2 separate regions of the Homo sapiens genome follow, and region 2 is linked to region 1. Evidence: promoter capture Hi-C in 16 types of primary human blood cells and fetal thymus (Javierre and others, 2016). All regions are on one chromosome and are shown on one strand. The core of a region is centred on a gene start or on the middle of the fragment in contact, and the rest is flanking DNA. Distances in the headings are between cores, read along the strand shown. Region 1 overlaps SKAP1 (src kinase associated phosphoprotein 1). Region 2 holds the start of HOXB5 (homeobox B5).

Region 1 (6,486 bases), core at 2,995-5,494:
TGGCCGTGGGGTGAATGGGATAGGTTTTTGGTAAGACACATTGCATGCAGAAATACCATGTGCTAAGACACAGAGGTGATAAAGTTTAGGCATTTTTGGGAACCAAAGGGTGATTCTGTTGATTAGGTAAAAGAGAGTAATGGGAGGTATGGCTGAAAAGACAAAATGGAACCAACTCCTGGAAATAAGAGTTTTGATTGGGTTTGAAGAGGACAGATAGGTAGTTTGGAAGAGTAAAGCATGAGGCAGTGATAGGTAAGCTGAGGAGGGATGCTTTAGTAGTGGATAACATTTGGGTCTTTGGCACAAGGGCTGAGGCCACTGGAAGGCAGAAAATGGTTGCAAAGAAAGAGCATAAGAATGTCAAAGGTTGCCTATGTTCCCTGTACCCAGAGAAGGAAGACAAATCTCCTTTGCCATACTTGATTTTATTTTTCAGTATCATTGGGTATAATTTGTATACAAAGCACTGTAAATAAGGAATGCATACAATTTGGTGCCCTAACCACTTTTCAGAATGTTATGTCAATGGGAAAATACATTCTATGGATATATGCTTCAACTTTCGAAATATGATTGGTCTGAAAATTAAAGACTGTATTCACAAATTTTCAGATCTGTTAACAAGATTTAATAGATTTTCAAAGCTGGCCCAGACAACTTTCAACTTTGTTTCATTAGGAAAATGTATTCCAAGGTCCAAACAACTGGAAATGAACTTTTAGAATACAGTCAATACTTGAATTGAGAGCTGCCTGTCTAGAATTTCCTTAATGGGCAACCACTGGTAAATATCTGTTTCCTTTATCGTATTTTCCAAAACTGCCCCATCATCAGGTTTTTTAACAAAAACCTGGGGATTTTGTTAAAATATATAGATTTCTAGGCCCCTACCCTGGAGATGCTAATTCACTAGGTCTGGGGTGGACCCTGAGAATTTGTGCTTCAATAAAAGGTCCAAGGGATTCTTAAGATCAGGAAAGTGTGTACAAATCTTTATCAGAATACCCTGTTTTTTGTTTTTTGTTTTTGAGGTAAGTGACTATTTTGGTTCTCAACTGAATTTTAACAATGAAGGGAAAATCTTTCCAGCAGGGCTTAAGAACTGTCAGTAGCTGACAACATTTCAGCCTGATTAGCTCCTGGGGTGAGGAGATGGGGATATGTTCATATGCTGCTCTGTGCTTCCTTGTGAACTGGCAACATCTCAAGATGTTTCTGATGCTGGAGAATCCCTCAAAGTGAGACAGAACTGAAAGCCCTGGTCCCAAGATGAGCCAGGTAAAGCCTGGGATTGACTGGTTGATTGTAATCGAAACTCTGAGGACCCCTGACCTGTACTGATATAGCCACAGAGCTGGTCACGTAGTCATTAGCTTTTAGATCAAAGTCCATTCCATTTTTTTATGGCTTGGATAATTGGGTACTTTATGTAAGGGTTTAATTATGACAAAGTAGTAAATGGGTAAGAATGATACTTTAGGCCGGGCACGGTGGCTCATGCCTGTAATCCCAGCACTTTGGGAGGCCAAGGCGGGCGGATGACGAGGTCAGGTGTTCGAGACCAGCCTGGCCAATACGGTGAAACTCCATCTCTACTAAAAATACAAAAGAATTAGCTGTGCATGGTGGCGGGCACCTGTAATCCCAGCTACTCAGGAGGCCGAGGCAGGAGAATTGCTTGAACCCGGGAGGCAGAGGTTGCAGTGAACTGAGATTATGCCACTGCACTCCAGCCTGGGCAACAGAGTAAGACTCTGTCTCAAAAAAAAAAAAAAAAAGAAGAAGATACTTTAGTATAGAATCTTTACAATTAGGGAAAAAAATCAACTTGAGGGCAAAAGCAATAATCTGGATTAAGTAAAATGGTACGAATTTAGGAAAAGTGTGAAATAATTTTAAAATGATTTCTGGATTTCTGTATACATCTCAGTTCTTAAATAGAAGAAAGTGTACACATAAGGATAGGCATTTTATGAAAATGTCAGTAATTCATTGTAGTTCTTAGAGTGGTTACCAGTAGAAGCTGGCTTTCTAAATTCTGTTATTTATTGATTCACATTTTGGTGTAGTGTGAATGAGTGAAATAATGTTATATCTTTAATTAGGATTCTGTTGTTATTTTTCAATTAATCTATGTCAGTAACTTTAGCATTTGTATTAAATCATTTTCTTCATGAAAGCTTCTAATGAGGAAACAAATTGATTGTATTTATATATTGGATTCTTGCCACCGCAATGTGTATTCAGTCGTGTCTTTTGAAGTATATTTTTACTGGTCATTTTGTGGTTTGTCTTTGAAGCCAGGCTTTGGGGGAAAAAATTCTTCATTTGGATGAAGGTTTCAATTTAACAAAGCTTTCTTATTTTTGTCTCTCTTCTTTTTCATCCCTTACTTTGATTTTCTTTCTTTTTTCCCCTCTTGACTTTGTGTGAGTGATTTAGAGGAAAATGAAGGCACCCCAGCCCCACCTTTTTGGAATAAAATCCATACTTCATAGCATTGCCTGGAAGTGCCTTGCCCTTTGCCTGCCTCTCCAAGCTTGTCCCTACCCCTCCCTGAAATGCTCTCTTATACTGAATGAGTCTCATACTGAACTCAGACAGCCCTTCCTGCTTCTTACCTCCATTCGCTGATTTAGCAAACATTTATTGAGCACAAGCTCTATGCCACTGCCCCTTGAGGGCTCAGTGACAGAGAGACAAGAAGATGCTAATACAGTATTATAGGTGCTACTGAGAGGCATGCACAGATGTGCTGTGGGAACCCTAACATAGGACACTTAGCTGAGCCTCAAAGGATCATGGAGGGTCCGCTAGGAGAAGAAGGAGGCATGAAAGGAAAGGTTTGCTGGCAGAGGGTGCTTGAACAAGTAGGCAGGAGTGTGAACGGGAGCCGGGGAGGACCTGAGAGCTGAGGTGAGCCATGGAAGGATTTCAAGCAGGAGAATGATAGGACCAAGCTGGCCTTTTAGGTCATTAAGATAATGAAGGTGCTAATGACTAACAGCTGACATTTATTGGAGGTTTACCAGGTTCTTTACGTGCATTACCTCTGTTAGTCCTCCCAAGAACCAAATGAGGCAGATGTGGTTATTATTTCTGTTTTAAAGATGAGGAAACTAAGGCTGCAGCAAAAGTCTCAGCTAGAAGATGGAGGAGCTGGGACTTCAACCCAGACCTGTCTGCAAAGACTTTGCTCTTCATGCTCATTCCATTCCCTTTTTCATCAGCACTGAGGAGAGTAGGTCAAAGGGAGGAGGATGAGGGCAGATGGACCGTTTGCGATGTGGTTACATGGATGTGGGTGAGGCCTTTTGAAAGCTCAGATGAACTCAGTGTCTGCAGAGATGGAGAGGAGATTGATTAAAAGGTTATTAAGGGAGTAGAATCTACAGGTCTTGGTGACTAATGGGATATATATAGTAATAGAAAAAGAGGTATAGGGATGATTCCCAAGTTTCAGCTGGGTGGATAGTAATATCATCCATTGAAATAGGGAACACAGGGGTAGGAGAAGTTTGGGACCTGTGGGACAAAGGACAGTTCTACTCCTGAAAGAGAAGAGTAATGATATCTCCTGCTTTTGAATGTTTTAATGGACTAAAGTATTTAATATATGCAGGCACTATAGTGAAGTCTTTGGCAATTGGTTTCTTCTCTGGTCAGCCTGAGCTCTATTACCTATCCCTCTAGTCCTCTAGTCTTCTCTGATTCTCTTGTCTTTTCATCCCACAAGCCTAGAAAAATCCTAATCTTGGATCATCAGTTCAACTGTTCATCTTCTCTGTTTGTATATCTGGAAAGCTATTCAGTTCTGGAGAAAAATTGCACAATTGGATTGTGCCATAGTAAATGTTTTTATTTAATTTTTTTTTTTTTTTTTGAGACAGGGTCTTGCTCTGTCACCCATGCTGGAGTGTAGTGGCACAATCATGGTTCACTGCAGCCTCAACCTCCTGGGCTAAAGCAGTCCTCCCACCTCAGCCTCTTAGGTAGCTGGGACCACAGGTACAAGCCACTACACATGGCTAATTTTTTTTTTTATTTTTTCTAGAGATGGGGTCTCACAATGTTGCCCAGACTGGTCTGAAATTCCTGGACTCAAGTGATCTGCCCACCTTGGCCTCCTAAAATGCTGGAATTATAGGCATGAGTCTCCATCCTGGCTGCACTACAGTAAAGTTTAGTCTTCAACCTCAGTCGAACCCTTAGTGATAACTGGTAGTTATTTCACATGCTCCACATCAGCAACCTTTTTCCTTAATTTTTTTTCCTCCGCAAACCCTTGTCAGTCTTTACCTCATCATATTGCTTCTCACTCTTTCCATGACGTCACAGCCTACTTCACAAGAGAAAAGAGAGGCTCTCAGGTTGGAACCTACTCAGTATCCTACCCTGTCCCTTACTCAACATAACTGCTTTGGGGTGCTAGGCTGGTCCTTTGCCACCTTCTCTTCTTCTGGACCTGGCCCCTCTGCCTGACCTCCCTCTGCATCTTGGGCCTGGCCTCTCTGTGACCCGACCCTCCCCTTCCAGGCTTCTCTCTGATCTCGAATCCTCCCTTAGCAACTCTTATGTGCAGGCAGTAAGACATTCTGGCATTAGTCAGACATGGGTTCTTCTGGTCCCAGTTTTTACCATTTGCATGTTCTGGGCCAATTACATCACTTCTACACAATTTGATTATTTCGGCCAAACTGGTCCACAGTTGGGTTTTCTGTGCTCTTAGTCCCTCACAGAGTGTCTGGCAAATAGTGGAAATTTATTCATCTCTACTACTGAGAGAACAAATGCAGTATTCGTAACTTGAGATACAGAGACTGTGTTGGCATGTTAATGCTGAGATATCCACCTTGCCTAGATGAACTCTAATAACTAATCCAGCTTAAAAATTTTTTACATAACATTTGCCTTCAGGTGAATAATATGTCCATGTTCATAACAAGGAAAATATCAAAGGCATGATAGCCGAGTTTTTCCAAGGAGGTTTTAAATGTTTTTGTAGAAATTGTCTCATTTTTAAATGAATATCACATTTTTGAACTTGCCCCTGATTCTGTACAAGATAAACTGTGGTGGCCCCACAGTGTGGACTTTTAAACTCCTATGGTGCGATCAGATAACCTCTCCATGCTTCATTGTTCTCATCCGTAAAGTGAAGGCTAGAGTAAATGATTTTAAGTGTCCTTCCAGCTGTAAAATTCAGTGAGTATATGGGCCACAGTCACACATTCACTCAGCTACCAGTTATTCACTAATCAGATAATGGCGTCTCAGTGGTCGAAGAGTAGCTGTTAACCTGAAGCAAGCAAAAAATAAAACAAAATTAGGTTTTTAAGCGTCAACAGTGACAAAAATGACAGAGCAAGGGCCAAAGAGACAACAGTTTAGAATACAGTAATCAGCTGGAGTTATTTGTACATAAGCAGTACCTTGTTTTCTCCAATACACAAGTTTGGAACCGAAAGGCGTCTCTGACTTTCCTCTTGATGCTCTCCTCCTAGCCAGTCTCTAAGTCTGTTATCTAATGTCTTGTCTTTTCTCTTGCTCTCAAGTAGCTTCCTAAACTATCTCCCCACTTTTCTCCCTCCCATCCATGCTACACATCTCTGCTGGATTTGATGTGGACATCATTCTTTATCCTTAAAGACAAACAAACAAACAAAGAAACAGACCTTTCAATGACTCCTTTTTATTTACAGAAAAAAACCCTCCAACTCTGACCTGTTGTTTAGTGTTTTTATTTTGCCATAATGTATTTGGCTAGCATTTTTCCTTTATTAGTTCATCGAATTATAGTTTGTTGCCTATTACATGGAGGAAGTATGGGGATTGTGTAGACATACTAGTGAGATTTGCTGGTGAAAAAACAGTCCTCATGCTAGAAAGTAGGGGAAGGAATGTTAGAATGTGGGTTTCCAGTGTTGCAATCAGAAAGCTTAATCACTCACTGATCAAAAAGAGTTCTTAGGTTTCTTAATGTTTATACTCATGGTGGGTGTTTCATTGACCATAGCAATGATTCCATGTAGCAAAAGTGTTATAGGAGACTCTAGTGTTAAATAGTACTTTAATTTCTTTTCAAAATTTAATTTCTTTTTTGCTGTCCAGGAATGGACTTAAAAATTGTGGTGGGGGAGCAGGTGATGAGTTATACTGTCAATCTCAGATAATGTTGTTTATTATTTAATATAAGTTTGATTGTGATCATTGTATTTAGTAGGTAGGTGAACATTGTATTATCTACCTAGATGGGCTTGTAAATATAGACTCAAGACCACAGAAATATTACATCCCCCAAAAGAACCCGGGACCTTCTTGTGATATGTTCTTCTATTACATAATTGAGTTATATGCCTATTGTCTGTTGTTACAGTAGTATTTATCATATTAGATTGTCATCTCATTATATACAAAGAGCTAATATTTTGGACTAGATTGTAAGCTCCTTGTAGGTAGGCATTAGGTCTTGTACTTTTGGTG
Region 2 (6,883 bases), core at 4,384-6,883, 220 kb before region 1:
AGCTCCTACAGAGACTTAGAAGAGGAGTGAGGATGCATTTCTTCCCAGTGGTCTCTGACTGCCTCAACTATCAGGAGGGTTCAAAGCCCACAACTGGAAGAAGAATGATTTCTTCCTTGTGCCCAGATTTACTGGGACATCCCTGATTCCTGAAAATCCTATAGCCCAGGCTATTCTTAAGTCTTTTGGGATTGTAGAGGGTACTGGAGTGAGGGTTGCAGGCAGGATAGGGATCAGACAAATAAAGCCACCTAGGCTGAGGGATACCCCTCACTCCTTCACTCCATATCACCAAGTGAGGAGAGGGCTAGTCCCTTTCCCCAGTGCCCCTTCCCCTGCCAAGGGTGAGCAGCTGCATACTAGAACCAGGCAGAATGTTTTGGGCAGCCACCCTCGTCGCCGCCTTCCAAGAAGCTCCTAGTCTAGCCACAGAGTCAGAAGGGGAAGCTTGGGCTCAGTCCCTCCTGCCAGCTCCTCCTCTTCTGGGTCTTCTAGGCAGTGGGATCTGGCCTGCCCCCTCAGACCAGAAGGGTTGTGGAGAAGCAGGAACAATAAGCCGAGGCTTGGAGGAGACAGAGCAGATCTGATAAACAGGAAAAACGATGTTCAAAACCTGGGGAGGAGGGTGTTTCTTCTTTGCTTATCTTAGCGGAGAACTCTTCTCACCTTCTACCGACACAAAACCCTAGAAACAAACCTTCTTTAGTTCTCTCTCAAGGCGATTCGGAGACATTTACCCAACCCTCCCCGGAGAGAAGGGGTCGAAGCAACGCAGGGGTTAACTTTTCTGAAAACACAATTAACTTTTTCCAATCCTGCGTGGGGTGGGGGAGAGACATATTTATTTAATCACCCGGGAGTGGGGTGGTCTCAATCTAAACGTTCCCTCCTCCCTCAAAGGCACTGAGCCTGTTTCACAGATCCTACGTAGGTGGAACAGGACGCGTTGTGTTGTTGGGGGGAGAGAGGAGAAAGGCGAAGGAGAAGGAGGAAAAAAAAAAAGGTTGATAGGTTTGTGCGCGGGTCCCTCGTGCGGGCTGCGCTCCTCCTGGGTGCTATTTGACAATTCCTGCCTCTGCCATTGGTCAGTGTTGGATCAGATGGTTGTATTTCCTTCTGGCCCTCACTGGCACCTCGCCATCCCCCCTCAGCTAAAACCCAATCTCGGATATACTACTAATAGGCGCGGCGCTCGGACTATAAAACACAACAAATCATAAACCCGGCGGAGCAGCAGCGGCCGCGCGCGCCTCCCCTCCCAATGAGTTCCTATTTCGTGAACTCCACCTTCCCCGTCACTCTGGCCAGCGGGCAGGAGTCCTTCCTGGGCCAGCTACCGCTCTATTCGTCGGGCTATGCGGACCCGCTGAGACATTACCCCGCGCCCTACGGGCCAGGGCCGGGCCAGGACAAGGGCTTTGCCACTTCCTCCTATTACCCGCCGGCGGGCGGTGGCTACGGCCGAGCGGCGCCCTGCGACTACGGGCCGGCGCCGGCCTTCTACCGCGAGAAAGAGTCGGCCTGCGCACTCTCCGGCGCCGACGAGCAGCCCCCGTTCCACCCCGAGCCGCGGAAGTCGGACTGCGCGCAGGACAAGAGCGTGTTCGGCGAGACAGAAGAGCAGAAGTGCTCCACTCCGGTCTACCCGTGGATGCAGCGGATGAATTCGTGCAACAGTGAGTGAGACTTCCCGTCGCCGTCGCCCCGGCTCCCCTGGGCGCCCACCCCGGGACACAGAACTAGTGAGCGCCCCCTGCCCCAATCTCCCACAGGGTGCTGGGTGGGCATCTCAGTTAGGAGATAGAAGAAGATTGGGCGCCGGCCGGGGGTCTCTCGCTGTGTCCCCTATTAGGCAGGAGTTACAAAGTTTGCAAAGTCCCAGCCGCACTGGGAGCCATGGGGAGCAAGTGTGCTCTCCTGGGGCGCCTGGCCAGAGCCGGGGTTCCAGGACAGGGAAGGGAGCAGGAGCCTGCAGTCACTGGCTTGGCTTTACTTTGAGCCCCCAACCCCCCTCTCCCAGCCCTGGTAGGGTTCCCCAACCAAAGACGGCTCCATTAAAAACGGAGTGCGTCATGCAAGGGGGTAGGGGGTGACGCTGAAGAGAAAGAGTTGAGTCTGTCTGGGACTGTGTTTCCCTGTGGGTGGGGAGCTGGGGCAAGATGAGGCACCAGGAAAGGGGTGGTAGTCAGAGGAGGGAGGAGGAATAAGGGGAAGGAAGAGAGAGGGAGCAGGCGGAGCGAGAGAGGGAGAAACAGGCGCGGGGTCTCAGGTTGGATTATTTGTTGGCCTTAAGTCCCAACTGATGTCCATTAGCCGGACTCGAAAGTGAGGAGCCGTTAATGTGGACTATGGATCGATCTACGTCATTACGGATTAACGGCCTGGATTTATCATTGGGTTGGGGGGATGACGGGGGGTGGGAACAAGATGGATGGAAAGGGAGGGAAAGACAAGATGCAACTAGGAAGAGACACACCTGACCAGCCCCTCCCCCCAGGCTCAGGTGGGAGTTCAAACTGCTCCTCCCCTCCCCCATCTAGAGTCTAGACAGACGGCACAGGCCTAGGAGACTAGGAGGGAATCTGGAGGGGGCGCTGGAGGAGTGCGAAACGGGGGAAGGGAGCCGGCAGAATAGAGGGCATCCCGGTACTGGCTGGAGTCTGTGTTCGAGGGTCGACTAGGGGAGGGGGTCCTGGGCCCGGTGACCGCAGGCCTCAGCATCTCCACTCTGCGTAACAGGTTCCTCCTTTGGGCCCAGCGGCCGGCGAGGCCGCCAGACATACACACGTTACCAGACGCTGGAGCTGGAGAAGGAGTTTCACTACAATCGCTACCTGACGCGGCGGCGGCGCATCGAGATCGCGCACGCCCTGTGCCTGACGGAGAGGCAGATCAAGATATGGTTCCAGAACCGACGCATGAAGTGGAAAAAGGAGAGCAAACTGCTCAGCGCGTCTCAGCTCAGTGCCGAGGAGGAGGAAGAAAAACAGGCCGAGTGAAGGTGCTGGAAAGGGAGGGAGGACGCGAGGGGAAAGGCCTGTGGGGAGCCGAGGGCGTCAGAGAGACCCGGGAAGGAAGGCTCTCGGGTGGGGGAGCCAGGAGACCTGCTCTCCGGCGCAGACAGGCGGGGCCCAGCGCTCTCCTGGACGCCCCCGCCCGCACAGCTCCCGGCGGGTGCTCTGAGGCCTCACTACTCGAGCCCACCCAGCATCCCGCGCGCCCTTCCTTCCCGAGGAACTCGCCTCAGCCTGATCAGGCTTCCTGGTGAGAACTGAGGAGCGGACTCACTTGATGTTTCCTGGAAGCAGAGCAAAATGCTCTTGTCCCTGTCGCGTCTCATTTTGTCCATGTCCCCCGTGCACGGTTCAATGGTAGATTCGCTGTCCCCTCAGCGGGGGCCTTGAAGACTCCCTGATCCCAGACCTGTCGTCTCTCCCACCCCCTCCCCAAAGCCACTGGAAGGAGCACATACTACCTAGAAGTAAGAAGAGGAGCCTCAGAAGAAAACAAAGTTCTATTTTATTAATTTTCTATGTGTTGTGTTTGTAGTCTTGTCTTAGCTCTGGACGTGAAATACTTCGATGATGATGATGATGATGATGATGATAATAATAATAATAATAACAACAACAACAACAATAATAAAGATGTGAAAACTCGACGCTCGGTCACCTCCAATCCTCCCCTGCCATTTTTTCCTCTCTCCTCAACCCCCAGCCTCTCCATCTTTCCTGAGCCAGAATTCTTCAGCAAAGGCGAGAGCCCTGGCCCGCCGAAGCGAGCCCTGTTCGACTGGGAAGTTACAGCTGAGATAAAGGCTGGAGCGATCAGTCCTGCCCAGGCCCCAGCGCTGCGTTTCCCTGGTGCTGAGGCTCACAGCCGCTTCTCCCCGTGCAGACTTGGGGGATGGAGAGGTGCTGTGTCCCTCTCATTCTCTAGCCTTTCCTCGTGTATACACAGCACTAAGGGAGCCACTGAGGCCCCTAAAGCTCTCTGGCGGAGACGGAGCCATAGTCTGGGGGCCTCTGCAGCGCTTTTCTGTCCTCACCTTCGCAGCGACCCCTGGTCTTTGGCCCGTCCACATGGCCAGGTTTTTTCGCCAGCCTTGGCCCTCCGCTCCTGGCCTGTGGCTCTGGAGACTGAAAAATGGGGCCACTGGGTATCTCTCACCCTGCAGCTGAAGGCTCCAGGTGCCCCTTCCCACCTCAAGTAGCAGATCAGCCTCAAGTAGGAGATCAGCCTCAAGTAGGGGAATGTAAAGCCACCAGCCAGGCACAGGCCGAAGGCCACAACTTTCCCTTGCTCCTTGGAGACCCCAGGGCAGGAGGCCAGGTGATGGGGCTTTTAGTGTCATCCTCTCAACCCAGAATGGCTCATTCTCTCTCTGCTTGCACCGGCACCCAGAAGGCAAGCTGCGGTCACTGTTTTCCTTTATTCCTCCGCCCTCTCGCTTCCTTTCTTATTTTTAAAGAAAATAGTCCCCTCCTAATAGGAGACCAGCTGCGGCGGTCTCTGGCCGCCCAGCGTGCTCAGCAAAGCATGCGGGTCCTTGGAACCCCTTTTCCGGGAAGGCGGCTGCCACCAGGCAAATTCTCAAACTGCCTAGCTGCGAGTGAGGGACCTGTAGTGGGGCCTCCGAATGCAATAGCCGAGGAGGAGGGGAAGGGATCCCGCTTTACAAACTCTCAGACACATGTTACTACTCAAACTAAGCAGCAGACGCGGTGGCCGCTGCAGTCTTTTCGGCAACTAGGCCGCTTAGCCCCAGCTGTGCTCGGTTTCTGGGGTCCCTGTCCTGCTCTGTCACTCCCCACGCCTGGGCTAAGGACCACCAAGGAGGTCCGGAAGGGGATTTCGAACTTCCAAGTGGCCCAGGAGAAGTGAACGCTTCTCCTTCTTTTTCAAGCCTCCCGCCCAGCCCTGCCGGCTCGGCCTGGGCGCTGTGGACCGGTAACAGCAGTTCCACCAGGATGCAGGCCGGACTAAGCTCCTGGGGAAAACCCGTTGCAATAATTGTTTTTCACACACAACTTCCAACCCTTCCCCCATTTCCGCCTCCAATTCGGAGACTTGCAAAGCCCAAGAAAGGGAAAAGCAACTCTATCTTTGATCTTCTCATCCAAAGTTAAAATAATAACGACAATGATGATGTAGGGAGAAAGAACCAAATAGAGAGGCTAACCCCACCCACAAGAAAGTGGGTAAAAAGCCCAACCCCTGCTCTAAAAGGCTCAACCCTGTGGCTGAGCCTTGGCCGGGTTTCTTTCTCTCCCGGCGACTGCAGGGAGCCTGCAGGGAGCCAGCAGGGAGGCAGCCGCCCGCCGCCATGGCGGTCTCACGCCCGCGCTCCCGTCGGTCGCCGGGAGGTGGCGCGCTCTGCTCAGAGGCCAAAGCCAACCTTCTCTCTGTTTCTCCCCCTTCTCCTTTTTTCCCCCTCTCTCGGAGGCTCGCATTGAATCGGCCCTAACGATTCTCGGATCGTCATTATTTGTAACCATAGAGCATGAATTACCTCTTGAGGTCATCAGCGAGAATTTACGACTGGTCAACAAAAGCACGTGATTCCCTAACGCCCCCCACCCCCCTTCCAACCCCCCCCCCATATTTGGCCGCATACATAGCAAAACGAAGTACAGTGCATCGCTATAATTCATTAATACATCATAAATCGTGAAGCACAGGGTTATAACGACCACGATCCACAAATCAAGCCCTCCAAAATCACCCAAATGAGCTCGTACTTTGTAAACTCCTTCTCGGGGCGTTATCCAAATGGCCCGGACTATCAGTTGCTAAATTATGGCAGTGGCAGCTCTCTGAGCGGCTCTTACAGGGATCCCGCTGCCATGCACACCGGCTCTTACGGCTACAATTACAATGGGATGGACCTCAGCGTCAACCGCTCCTCGGCCTCCTCCAGCCACTTTGGGGCGGTGGGCGAGAGCTCGCGCGCCTTCCCCGCGCCCGCCCAGGAGCCCCGCTTCAGGCAAGCGGCTTCGAGCTGCTCCCTGTCCTCGCCCGAGTCCCTGCCCTGCACCAACGGCGACAGCCACGGCGCCAAGCCCTCTGCTTCGTCCCCCTCCGACCAGGCGACCTCAGCCAGCTCCAGCGCCAATTTCACCGAAATAGACGAGGCCAGCGCGTCCTCGGAGCCTGAGGAAGCGGCAAGCCAGCTAAGCAGCCCCAGCCTAGCTCGGGCGCAGCCAGAGCCCATGGCCACCTCCACAGCCGCGCCCGAGGGGCAGACTCCGCAAATATTCCCCTGGATGAGGAAGCTTCACATCAGCCATGGTAATTCTCTCTCTCTTTTTTGTCTTCTCGGCTTTCCTTCTCTGCGTTTTGGGGTGGGATCGGGGGGACAAGGAGAGCTTGGCTTTACCCTAAATATAGATTCATTTTTCTAAGGGGGAGAAGTATCTAAGAGGGGCCTCATAGCTTCGTAGACAGAGCCAAAAAGGGTCTCTCTGTTAAGAGGGGGGTATTTTTAATAATTTGTTTCCAGCTTCGGCTTAGGTTTTTATTAGCGCAGCTGAACCAGCTTTAGGATAAAGGATGGGGTTCATATAATGTGGGGAAGGGTCCTGCTTACCCCTGAAATTTTGAGACTGTCGCTAGCAAAGAAGGGGTGAACAGTAAAAGGAGCTTTCCGGGGCAAAAGTGCAACCGCTCTCCTCCCTCCCGGGGCGAGCGGCCGCCTGAGCCCAGCCAAGGGTGAGGCACTAGGAGCGAGCAAGAGACAAAGCCGGGCGCACTGGCTGCCTGCAGAAGTGGGGGATGCAGTAGAAAGGGGTGCAGAAATCGAGCTTGAATGTGGGCATCTGGAGTAGAGAGGATTGGAGCTGTGGTGAGCTGGGTGCCGGGACGCCTGGGTCCTGCTCCCCCG

What was found. Contacts are between HindIII fragments. The CHiCAGO score rates a contact against its expected background, and 5 or more counts as called.
Region 2: the fragment with the promoter of HOXB5 here is called in contact with a fragment that was not itself captured in region 1 in 2 of 17 cell types (megakaryocytes and erythroblasts); the score reaches 7.6 in megakaryocytes.

Annotation. Positions count from the first base shown.
Region 1 is chr17:48,374,978-48,381,463 of GRCh38, reverse strand. The region is part of intron 2 of SKAP1 (src kinase associated phosphoprotein 1); the gene reads left to right. Among named protein-coding and RNA genes, the nearest start is that of SKAP1, 52 kb to the left of the region's middle. The HindIII fragment of the contact is 3,399 bases long and covers 2,545-5,943 here.
Region 2 is chr17:48,592,529-48,599,411 of GRCh38, reverse strand. It overlaps HOXB5 (homeobox B5), which reads left to right and starts at 5,633. Exons shown (of 2, transcript NM_002147.4): 1 at 5,633-6,291. The coding sequence starts at 5,730. The region is part of intron 1 of HOXB-AS3 (HOXB cluster antisense RNA 3); the gene reads right to left. HOXB6 (homeobox B6) reads left to right here. Exons shown (of 4, transcript NM_018952.5): 3 at 1,184-1,676; 4 at 2,740-3,661. The coding sequence starts at 1,262. The coding sequence ends at 2,999. RefSeq lists silencers at 1,313-1,412, 5,960-6,009 and enhancers at 1,643-1,692, 2,749-2,918, 4,690-5,195, 5,425-5,494, 5,196-5,703 and 1 more. The HindIII fragment of the contact is 5,828 bases long and covers 450-6,277 here.